2 separate regions of the Homo sapiens genome follow, and region 2 is linked to region 1. Evidence: promoter capture Hi-C in 16 types of primary human blood cells and fetal thymus (Javierre and others, 2016). All regions are on one chromosome and are shown on one strand. Each heading gives the region's core, a stretch centred on a gene start or on the middle of the fragment in contact. The rest is flanking DNA. Distances are from core to core; before and after follow the strand shown.

Region 1 (6,373 bases), core at 1,815-4,314:
TCCTAAGCAAAAAGAACAAAACTGAAGGAATCACATTACTTGACATCAAATTATCCTACATAGCTACAGTAACCAAAACAGCATGGTACTGGCATAAAAACAGACATAAAGACCCATGGAAAATAACAGAACCAAGAAACAAATCCATACACCTACAGTGAACTCATTTTGACAAAGGTGCCAAGAACATACATTGGAGAAAAGACAGTCCCTTCAATAAATGGTGCTTGGAAAACTATGTGCAGAAGAATGAAACTTGTCCCCCATCTCTCAACTTACACAAAAATAAAATCAAAATGGATTAAAGGCTTAAATCTAAGACTTTAAACTATGAAACTACTACAAGAAAATATTGGGAAAAATCTCCAGGACGCTGGTCTGGCCAAAAATTTCTTGAATAATACCCCACAGGCACAGGCAACCAAAGCAAAAACGGACAAATGGGATCACATCAAGTTAAAAAGCTTCCGCACAGCAAAGGAAACAATCGACATACGTGATGAGACAACCCACAGAATGGGAGAAAATATGTGCTAACTACCTATCTCACAAGGGATTAATAACCAGATATGTAAGGAGCTCAAACAACTCTACAGGAAAAAAAAAAACTCATAATCTGATTTAAAAATGGGCAAAAGATTTGAACAGACATTTCACAAAGACATACAATTGGCAAACAGGCATATGAAAAGGTGCTCAACATCACTGATCATCAGAGAAATGCATATCAAAACTACAATGAGATATCATCTCACCCCAGTTAAAATGGCTTTTATCCAAAAGACAAGCAAAAACAAATGCTGGAGAGGATGTGGAGAAAAGGGAACCCTCGTACACTGTTGGTGGGAATGTAAACTAGTATACCCACTATGGAGAACAGTTTGGAGGGTCCTCAAAAAACTAAAAACAGGGGTACCATACGATTCAGCAATCCGACTACTGGGTATATATCCAAAAGAAAGGAAATGAGTACATCAAAGAGATATCTGGACTCCTATGTTTGTTGCAGCACTGTTTACAACAGTCAAAACTTGAAAGCAACCTAAGTGTCCACCAACAGATAAATGTATAAAGAAAATGTGGTACATATACACAATGGAGTACTATTCAGCCATAAAAAAAGAATGAGATCTTGTCATTTGCAAAAATATGGATGGAACTGGAGGTCATTATGTTACATGAAATAAGTCAGGCATAGAAAGACAAACTTCACATGTTCTCACTTATTTGTGGAAGCTAAAAATCAAAACAAACTCACGGAGACAGAGTAAAAGGATGGTTATCAGAGGTGGGAAGGGTAGTGGTAGGGAAGTGGAGATGGTTAATGGGTACAGAAAAAATGAGTTAGACCCGATATTTGATAGCACACAGGGTAACTACAGTCAATAATAATTTAATTGGACATTTAAAAATAACTGAAAGTGTAACTGGATTGTCACACAGAAGACAAATGCTTGAAGGGATGGATACTCCATTTTTCCATGTGATAATTATGTATTGCATGCCTGTATCAAAGCATTTCATGTACCCCATAAATATATACATCTACTGTGTACCCCCAAAAATTAAACATTACAAAAAGTTCAGAAATATAGTTGTTTTCTTATTTGCAAAAATGCATAAAAAATGAAAAGGTAAACTTTTCTGGAAAATACATGTTTATTCCAGTGTTCACCTAATTGTTTGGGTGGGTAATCCAAAGAACAAAGTTCTTTTGGTTTTACAAGCTAAGTAACATGAAGTTAAGTGCACGATGGAATTAAGATATTCCAATACACATCCTCAACCTGTTGCCTAGAGAAAATAATCAGCCACATTAATATATTGAAGTCTACAAAAATTATGACATTTTGAGGAATATCTAAACTATTACAATTTCTTTAGGTTTACTAAGATAAACTGAGATGTTCTATTTCAAACAACCAATATTTAAAGAAGTTCGCATTTTTAATAAAAGGTCTATCGAAGAGATCCTAGAAAAACTTTAGACAAAAATTAAGCATTTCTAATTATAAAGGAATATGAAATATGAGTTTTTTATTTTTGTTTTTTCTTTTTTCATTTCATTCTCAAAATAATATCGAAGTTTACCTAGATCATTTTTTAAGCTAATTTCAGATGGTGGTTCTGAATCCATTGGCACGTTAATTAACGTGTAGCATACGTTCTCAGCCGCCGTCATGGTTTCTGGTTATATTATAACCAATCCTTGACACAAGATTTAAGGATGCCAGAAAATCTAGAAAAATAAACACAGACATATCATTACAAATTAAAAAAAAAAAACCCACAAACAAGTACCTATAGTGACCTTTTAAAGTATTAGAAAGGGCAGGTCAATCTATATCGTGTTCCCATAAAAATAAATTCTAGTAAAAACCACATTATCAGCTCTGGCATAAGGTATATTATCTATCACTCCCTCATCGCATCCCGGTCCAGTGTTTGAGAATGCTGTATAGCCGAATGAAGGCCCACAGAACAGTGACAGTCCCCCCAGCCACACCCCACAATGTTATGGACCGTATGGTTTTTACACAACACACAATCTGCATGCTCAAGTTAAGAGACCTTGTGCCTGAATACTCTGCCAAAACCCTAAAGCGCTTTATCGCGGTCCTTGGTGGGTTCCGACTCTATGTCCGCGGGTCCCTTAATCAACGCGCTGCACCCCCACCTCGCCCCACCCGCTTCCTCCTCCCCTTCCTCCAGCAAAGCAGCCCTAGGCCTGAAAGGGTACGCCTAGGGGTCTTGGGAGGGAAAAGACCCCCGGCCAATACAAAGGACGGGATGGAGCGTCCGACCCGGAGCTTCCTAGCCCTCCGCCCCCACCCCGACCCGCACCCCCACCCGTACCCCCACCCGGTCCCTTCTGCCAGGCCCAGACGCAAGCGGCCTAGTCGCTCCCCTTCCGCATCTTCCAGCTAGAAAGCCAGTTCTTCCGACTCTGCCCGACCCACCACGCCTCTGGGACTGGGGGCTTGTGGCCCACTACCAGGCTCCGAGGGGCAGTGGTTTGGTGCAGCCGCGGATCCGTCTACTGCGGCTCCGTCTACTCCGGCTATGAACCGCAGCAGCGGCGGCGGCGGCTCCAGAGTCCTTGGCTGACGTGGAAGGGGGTGGGGTAACGACCGAAGCCACAGCCACCTAGCACCTACGGCGACTCAGAGAGGACATGCTTTCTTTGTGCAGCGCTTGCGCGCTGCAAGTATATCCTATTTTCTTCCTCTTCTCTTGTCCAGGGTTTGATTAGGCCGCAGAGCAATGAAACCACGTATTTTCTAGTTTTCCCTGCAAGCCAAGCTCTGAGTTAAGCACTATGCTAATTTAAACGCTAACTGGAAATCGTTCCTTCTTCAGGAACAGTCAAGGGGAGAAAGTGCTTGGAGAGAGGGAAACTTTTACAGGGCTCTGTTCCCGTGAAAAAGAGCTCTGGACTAGAAAGTGGAAACCCAGTAATCCTTTTTCTTGTCCACACCCTAATAAACTGGGAAAGTAACTAATACTATTGGGAAGGTAATTCAGTTATTTTATTAATTATCACTAGATTAAAATCCATTTCAGTTCTTAACATCGCTAGTAGTTTGAATCTGCCTCTCTGCAGGTAGGGCTGGAGTTATTTGAAAATCCAAAGTCACATTGGTATAATTTCTGCTTTTTATTTAATAATGGCCTCTTTCCGTGATCCTTTCTGAGCACCCAGTAGATTAGAAAAAATTTTTATGCATAAAGGGAGACAGTCACTGTTTTAAAGGATTTTACGTATCTCCAAAGACCTGTTACAGCTGCAATCAGCCATAGTACTTTCGGTTTTGCCCATTTGAAGTTCCATAGCACGCCCCGCCCCTACACCTCCCTCTGCCCACAAAAGGGTTTTATGGCCAATTATTAATAACAAAATATCTTAAAGCTTAAGCAAAATACTGCGAATAAAAACAGATCTGACGGCAACTGCCCTAGTTAACAGGTTCATCTCAGGAAGATGGAACACCAATAGTACCTCATTTATGTAGGATCTAGCTCTTTTGAGCTTTCTCTTTTTAGAACCATCAAGCAATCTACAAATTCTTTGAGCACCCAAAATTGTATTCAAAGGCCATGTGTTGACAGCACTTTAAGAGTGCCTCTCTGATTCTGTGCATTCATTTTTTTTAATATTTAATCTTAATGGTAGAGTGACATGAATACAGAGATCCCATATACTCTTTACCTAGTTTCTCCCAATGGTAACATCTTGCATAGTTATAGTACAATATCAATTTCAGGAAATTGACAGACATAATTCACCCAGCCTTGTTCAGACTTCACTAGTTTTACATGTACTCGTTTTTATATTCACTTGTAGACAATTTTATCATGCTTATATGTGTGTAATCACCAACACAGTCGAGACAGAACAGTTCTATCACAAGGATTCTCATGCTGTCCTTTGATAGCCATAGCCACCTCCCACACTAACCTGTGGCAACCACTAATAATTCTCTATGATTTTTATCATCTCAATGTTATATAAATGGAATTATACAATGTAATCTTTTGAGATTGGATTTTTTTACTGAGCATAATTCCCCTGAGATCAATCCCGGGTGTGTGTACAACAGTTTGTTCCTTTTCTGTGTATTCGTTTTTAACATGGAAGTTTTACAAATGCAGTTATCTGGTTTCCAAGCCCACTTAACTTACCAAAAAGTGACAATCTGTCAGCAAGAAATGAGGCCAAAAAAGGTATAAAAACTAGATTTACAGTAAGAAAGCTCAGTTTAGGGCCATCATGGTGTAGGACTTAAACCGTACAGACTTCATTTGCCCCAGAGGTTCATTCTGTTACAGAATAACTTTGAGGTTTCTCATGACCCCAAGTCATTAAGTTCTAAATATGAAAAGGCAAGAAAATGTAATGTTTTACATATTACTTTAGTTAGATCTGAACCTACAATTGTCATTGGCAGTGCATATATTTTTCCATATTCTTAAGTACAAAGCTTTTTGAATGGGTATAAGGACCTTAATATTAACCTCATTAACTCTTCCTGATCTGTTGTAAAATACACTTTGTTTGGGCTGTTTTACTCTAAGATGTAATTATATAATTTTGAATGCCTTTAAATTATAAATGCAGAGCAAAGACCTTGTCATTTTATCAAGGACCATAGAAATTGTGGTATCTAAAAAGTCAAGGCCTAGAGAATAGGGACTTGCCCCAAATCATGTAATGGCCAAACACTGAGTTAGAACTAGGACCTGAATCCTGTCATCTACGTTATTATTTTTATTTTTTTGAGACAAGAGTCTCACTCTGTCACCCAGGCCGGAGTACAGCGGCATGATCATAGCTCACTGCAGCCTCAGACTCTGGACTCAAGTGATTCTCCCACCTCAGCCTCCTGAGTAGCTGGGACCACAGGTGTGTGCCACCACACCAGGCTAAGTTTTAAAAATTTTTGTAGAGATGGGGTCTCACTATATTGCCCAGGCTGGTCTTGAACTGAACTCAAGCAATCCTCCCACCTCGGCCTCTCAAAGTGTTGAGATTACAGGCGTGAGCCAACACACCCAGCCACTGCCTTTTATTCCATGCCAGTTCTTCAGAGCTGCACACATACATGCTCAATAAATTCCAGGTGAATTGAGTATCTTTGTATCAAAGTGACAGGCTTTATAAAACATCATTAGGATTTTACTGTTTGTAATTATTCAACAGACTAAATGGAATATGTGAGTACAACAGACTAAACATGAAAGGGCATCACAATGAACTGTATATACAGTGGGGTTGAGTATTACTGGAGTGGGGAGGACTTTAAGTTCTAAAGTCAGTATATAAGACTAAAAATCACATTGAAAAAATTACTTAAATTGCTCCCAAAGTATAATACAGAATATTTATTTTTTTAGCTGAATACAAGCCAACTAGTGGTTTGTATTTGTGGAACAGGTGCATGTTCCACAATGATAAACATAACAATATCTTTGGTTTTATTTTTTGAGACAGAGTCTCGCTCTGTCACCTGGCCAGGCTGGAGTGCAGTGGCATGATCTCGGCTCACTGCAACCTCTGCCTCCCAGGTTCAAGTGATTCTCCTGCCTCAGCCTCCCGAGTAGCTGGGACTACAGGCGCGTGCTACCATGCCCATTTAATTTTTGTATTTTTAGTAGAGACGGGATTTTGCCATGTTGCCCAGGCTGGTCTCGAACTCTTGACCTCAGGTGATCCACCCGCCTCGGCCTCCCAAAGTGCTGGGATTACAGGTATGAGCCACAATATCTTTAAACAGCAGAATCATTCAGCAAAGACAGAGGCTCACCCAATGGAATGCATGTGGAAGAGAGATCTGCCTAAGCAAAGGGCAGATTATTATATTTCCCACTTATG
Region 2 (6,373 bases), core at 3,874-6,373, 1.0 Mb before region 1:
CTGAGGTGGGAGGATCACTTAAGCCTGAGAGGTGAAGGCTGCAGTGAGCGGTGATCATGCCACTGCACTCCAGCCTAGGTGACAGAGTGAGACCCTGTCTCAAAAAAAATTAAATAAATAAATAAATAAAATAAAAAGAAAAACACAGATTATATAACCCTGGTAGAAAGGAATTCTGTAATATCCAACAATACTACACATACACTTACTAGTCCTACTTCAAAGATGATACAACTCCACTAATATTCCATAAAATATTTGTAAATATATTCACTGTGGCATTATTTGTAATGGTAAAAGACTAAAACAATCGGAATGTGCATCAAAAGGAGTTAACTGAATAAACTACATGCATCCACACAATAGAATAACGGATTAATATCCAAAATACATCGTTAGGTTAAACAGCAACAGCAAAAAACAGGTAGGTACAGAACAAGCAGTATTCATTGTACTACCTTTTGTAACATAAAGGGTAAACTTAAAAATATGTACATATATTCAAAGACAAATACACATGTATTTATTTTTGTAAAGAAAACAACTCAAAGTATAAAAAAGACATTAATCAAAATGGTTACCTATATGGGCAGAGTAGGACTGGGGTGAAGGTAATAGGGATGTAATCAAGACTTCTGAGTTCTCTTTCGATATACTTTAGATATTTGAACCACATAATGACTTACATACTCCAAATAAATTAATAAGGGGTGTATGTAATATTCATATGTGTATGTATGTATCTGTGTACACACATATATTTCTGACTGGAAGCAATTATCACTGAGTCATGGGATTATGGTACCATTTTCTTCTTTGCCCTTTGCTAAATGTTCCCAGTTGCATGTAATACCCATTACTTTTACAGTCAGAAAGAAATTACTCCAAATAAATCTATTTTTATAGGAAATTTTTCAAACTACTCATCATAAAACAGTTTCAAAATTAACAGCCATTCAAGCTGAGTGTGGCGGTATGTGCCTATAATCCCAACTACTTGGGAGGCTGGGGTGAGAGGATCACTTGAGCCCAGAAGTTCAAGGTCAGCCTGGACAACATAATGAGACTCCATCTCAAAAAAAAAAAAAAAAAAAAAAACTGTTCCAGTCTACTGTTAAATAATATCATTCACTAGGGAAGCAAAGATGATCAAAGATGCCATACCACTTTAAAATATGGCAGTTTTTCCTTTTCTTAATATGTTGAGTTCAAGTAACACGGACAGCTGTATATATGTATATTTATAAACAATGCACATATACTATCACACCAGTATTATGTATATAGTACACACACACACGAAATGGAAATTTAAAAAGGATACAGTAAAAAATAAATAGAAGTTCTATTGTTTTCTTCATACAGCACAATGAACAAGTTTTTCATATATCCCCAAAAGCACATGCAACCCACTAGGGGGAATCACTGGAACAAACTACTCCAAATCAGGAAACTTGTGGATTTGTATTCTAGTCTCAGCTGTCTTACTGCCTGCCAATATCTTTGATCAAAATCAGTTAAGGGGCTTGATTTGCACTTTAGTTTTCTCTTCCAAAAATTGGAGTATTAATGGTTTTAAAGTTACTTTCAGTATTATGGTTTCATAATCCCACCAGTCTCTCTAATAATTATTCTCTTTTAAAAGAGAAACTCCAACAATTTGGAAAACTAAGTAAGAAACAAGAATGTCTCGCAGTTAACCATCTTACAGGAGGTTATGGTCTTCTCTAAGAAAATTCTAAATGAACAAATGAATAGCTGAAAGAAACAGATCATATCGCTTGCTTTCTTGATGTGAGAAAAATCAAATTCAAGCCTGCATTGTATAAAATAAATTGTCTGAATGAAGTAATTACCTTTGAAACAATCCAGCACTATTTGTATGCCACCCAAAAACAAGAAAATCATAACAACGCTTGTACAATTTTGTACCTAAGATTCTCTGTCAGGTATCTGAGCATTAAAATTTATTTATTTATTTATTTTTTTATTTATTTATTTTTTTTTTTTTTTTGAGACGGAGTCTCGCTCTGTCGCCCAGGCTGGAGTGCAGTGGCGGGATCTCGGCTCACTGCAAGCTCCGCCTCCCGGGTTCACGCCATTCTCCTGCCTCAGCCTCCCAAGTAGCTGGGACTACAGGCGCCCGCCACTACGCCCGGCTAATTTTTTTTGTATTTTTAGTAGAGACGGGGTTTCACCGTTTTAGCCGGGATGGTCTCGATCTCCTGACCTCGTGATCCGCCCGCCTCGGCCTCCCAAAGTGCTGGGATTACAGGCGTGAGCCACCATGCCTGGCTGGCTGATTGCTACATTCTTTAGCAAACTAGGTCTCAGTTTCAAGGATCTCAAAGTAAACCCGAGCAAGATACACTAGGGGAAATGCAACATTGGCTTGAACCCTGATGAAGAATCTATTAAAAAGGGAGAAAAATTTTAATAGTTCTTTCTCCATTAACAGGAGAAGGTAACATCTGTATCTTCCTGACCCGCCTTACTTTCGGTTCAGAATCAACAAAAAATAAAGGATCCAAACAGATGATGGTAAAAATATAACTAAATCCAACGTGCAAAAACCCTTATTACTTCAACTGCAAATTAAACTTACCCAGTTAGAACTGTAGGCATTCCATTTCCTTCTCCCTCATAGTATTAGTAGTCCAGCCTGCTCAGATAAGCCTACCATACAAATGAATAGACAATGTATAGCCTAAGAATTGAGAGTCCCAAAAATTGAATCATAAGGCACTGAACAAAAGTATACTCAATCCCTTCCCTTAGCCTCCCCTGATCCTCCTTTGGGATGGCAACTCAGGGGATGGGAAGAAGCGGAAAGCTATTTCCAAAAAAGAACTTCCTACTTTATGAGTCATGGTAGAAACAAGTAAAGACGAAAATAATGGTTCCCCCTTCAACAAGCACAATCTTCTCAAATATAAAACAAATTCCTCAGAAGTAGTCTTATAACTCTTCAACAGGAGCACCTCACAAACATAATACATATCTCCTCTTCTTTCATTTCCTATTTCAGAGAGAGGCAGAGATTGAATGAACAGATATTAGCCTAGCTTGGCCTGAGATGACTGAGCTAAAATGAAGAAAAGAAAATCTGCAAATTCCCATAGCAGTCCTGATTAAAAACCAGTATTCTATGTAGTCTCTGCACAAGTTATGATAAATTTAGCCACAAAAGGCAGACCTCTTTTTAAAACTGCACAATACACAAATGGGTACTTAATCATTTCATCTTCCTTTTCAAAATTCTCTCCCTTACCTAACTTCCTCTCTCACCCTTATCCCAAGTGAAGACCCCCAACTTGCCCTCTATATGCCTAAAAAACACCTCTTACTTAGCTTTGACCTCTAGCACTCCCATTCCCCATAACCCAACTAGGTATGAATCAGATTATGTGATTAAATTACTTCACATTAATGGGTAAATGAGGCTTAATCCACAAAGGTCAATTCCACACGTCATTAAACTCTACTATGTATAAGGCACTAAGTTTAATCAATTAATATACCTATCCTTCTTACAAGAAAAACTAACACAAATCAATCTTTTAATGAACAATGTAAGGAAGGGGCACAAGAGTGTTTGCTTCACATCACACTTTCTCCACCCAGTTCTTTCCATCCTGTTGCCAAACCCCTCCAATCTCCATCTGGCATGGAATAAAATCCAAGGGATCAGTATTTCTTCCAGTAAGTCAATGCCTAGGAAGACAATGTGGGATAGCACAGCAAACAATAAACATTCAAATCCTGAAATGGACTGTAGAGGGTCTCTTGTATTTAATTTTATATATTAGCTGCAAATACAATAAAGAGCTTCTAAATAATTCAATTTCTGTACAAGATACCTATAAATCAGCTTTGCTCAGAACTCTGAGTTTTTAAACCATAAATACTGAGATGCTTTTTCTTCAGTTATTTCCACAGTTAAAACGTTTATAGTAAATACCAGTTCAAATTGCCCTACTATAACTATACTTAAAGGCTATTAAACTTAACTACTGTTTTCAATTAGATGTGACATTTTTCCCAAGACCCCTTAAGTTTGAAACTCCAAACTTGCTTTAAACCTCCTTTTTTTCCAGTCATAAAATTTATTAATTTTGATTTATAACAGAGCTTCTAAACTGGAGAGGAGAATACAACTATGGACAGGTTTGGATTTGATTCAGTCACATGATATTTTTAATGGTTTTAATTAGTTGTCAATATTTTTAAGACGCAAGACACTGAATGCAAAAATCTAGATTTCCGAGTTCTCTTGAGAATGCTGAAGATGGGGTCCATATTCTTATATAGCACTGATTAGGGGGACCTGAGACTTGGATGTCTCTCTGATAAGGCATAGTGCATTTCCCTCATTTTCATTATCTAACTAGTACCCGAAGGCATGTGAGTTTGTTGCTCATGCTATGGCTTTGAAAGGTGCACAATATTTTCCATATCACTTCCATACTTCCCTAAGTCACCTATTATAAAAAGCCAAAAGCAGACCACAGTGGTTTGCAACTCCATAGTTAATAATTTAAAAAATTCACATGGCTTAGAGGGAGTGAGAAAGAAGAAAATTCAGACTGGTGGAAGGGTAACATAATTACATAGGGTTAGAAGTCTATCTGAAAGCTTTTCTGGGAGTGAGAAAAAAGGTGAACGAACACAAAAACATTGTTGAAACACTAAAAGCTTTCCTGATTGAACACTGTTACTCTCTGGTGGTTCCTTACCACATTCCATGCTTCAGAAACTTCCTTCCTACTTTGTATGTATTAATATAATAGCTGTTAGGTCATACACGCTGAGAAATATTGGGAAAATTTATAAAACACATTTACATCATCAGAAATAATTCTTCTCACACTTTTTTTTTTTTTTTTTTTACCAGTCTTGGTCCACTTTCAAATCCCTTCCCAAGTATTTTCTACTGCTTTCCGCTTTATATTCAAATGACAACTGCAGTCCTGGGTTTCAGGACTGAACTTCAATCCTGGACAGGCTCTCTAATACAGAAACTCTTTTGGCCGTTATGGCTGCATTCTTTATTATATCTCTTATTCCGATTTCCACAGTCTCTTTCATTGAAAATTTATCCCTAACCCCCTCTCTAAAAGATTTTGATCAAATTTGTGTAGTTGGGGGGTTGGGAGGATAGGGGCGGGAAGGAACTCAGTTGTCCAAATACAATTAATATCCTGTGCTGTTTCATTTAGATTGCTAATTTAAATAAAAAGCATGAAAACTCTGCAAGATAATAAATCTTCGTAAAATAATCTTGTTTACTAAGTGCACAAAGCCACAAGCAAGTGAAGCTCTATCTTTCAGCATGTCTGGACTAGTGACTTTTCATCATGGACTCAGAATACTGAGAAAGGAGAAGCAGGAAATCTGTGAGGCCCAGGGACAGTCACACTGGCCCACACTAACAAATTACTAACCGATGTCTCACCTTCCCCCGCCCCATTCCCAAAGATAAGGGTGTCAGGGCACCTGCATCTGAAGAAGAAAGACATCAGAACCTTTTCCGTGCAAGTTTTAAGAAAACAAAGCTTTACCACACGTAAAATGGTTACAACATAAAACCACGCAGCACGTTAGTGGGGTCTCACTCCTCTTCACCCAGAGGGAGGCTGCCCACCACCTTATCCCCTATTGTGATGCGCCTTCCTCAGGATGTCGCTGCGTTCGTCTGAGATGACAGGAAAGGGGCGGGGCACGGGGTTCCTCTGCCCTGGAAAGGGATGAGGGTATCGCCTTCATCCCCGGAGAAAGGCCCCCGGACTCCCAACCCAAAAGCAGCAGCCGCAAAACTCAAGTCTTATCCCGGCCTCTCCTAATTGGGTGCTCGTGGCCGGAGCCCAAAACGCCACCCACGGTACCCGAGCAGGGTCCGGCCGCCCAGACCACCGCCGCAGCAGCCTGGCTCTCACGCCCAGATTCGCCCTCCGCCCCTTTCCTCTTTCGCCCCGGCCAAGCCCAGCCTCCCGCGCCGCCCCCGCCGAGTTCCCCAGCTGAGTCCACTCACTCTCGAACCTGTAGTCCCCCTTCAGTGCCCACACAAGATTGGGGCAAAGGCCGGGGCCAGTGACACCTCCACTTCCTCCTCAGCCAGATCCCTCCGGAGGTGGCTGTGGAGGAAGCCACTGAGGCGGCTGCGCGTAGCGGAGCCGCCCCGGCAGGTTGCAGGCCGGCTCCTCAGCCTCTTACCGCGAGAGCTCACAATGCGAAGAGGCGAGGCCAGCAGCGTTCTCGCGAGAACGGTGCTCTCCGCCCAGGGGTGGGCGGGGCACCGAAGGAGAAGGCAGTTGAGGGCGCGGCGGCCACGGGTGGGATCTCAGGCGCGTGGAGAGGAAGGCGCCGCGCGACC

The links. Contacts are between HindIII fragments. The CHiCAGO score rates a contact against its expected background, and 5 or more counts as called.
Region 2: a fragment that was not itself captured here is called in contact with the fragment with the promoter of COPB1 in region 1 in 1 of 17 cell types (fetal thymus); the score reaches 6.2 in fetal thymus.

Annotation. Positions count from the first base shown.
Region 1 is chr11:14,496,747-14,503,119 of GRCh38, forward strand. It overlaps COPB1 (coat protein complex I subunit beta 1), which reads right to left and starts at 3,065. Exons shown (of 22, transcript NM_001144061.2): 1 at 2,961-3,065; 2 at 2,092-2,239. The coding sequence starts at 2,182. RefSeq lists an enhancer at 3,187-3,286. The HindIII fragment of the contact is 3,446 bases long and covers 463-3,908 here.
Region 2 is chr11:13,457,061-13,463,433 of GRCh38, forward strand. BTBD10 (BTB domain containing 10) reads right to left here and starts at 6,162. Exons shown (of 9, transcript NM_032320.7): 1 at 6,032-6,162. RefSeq lists an enhancer at 6,342-6,373. The HindIII fragment of the contact is 860 bases long and covers 4,694-5,553 here.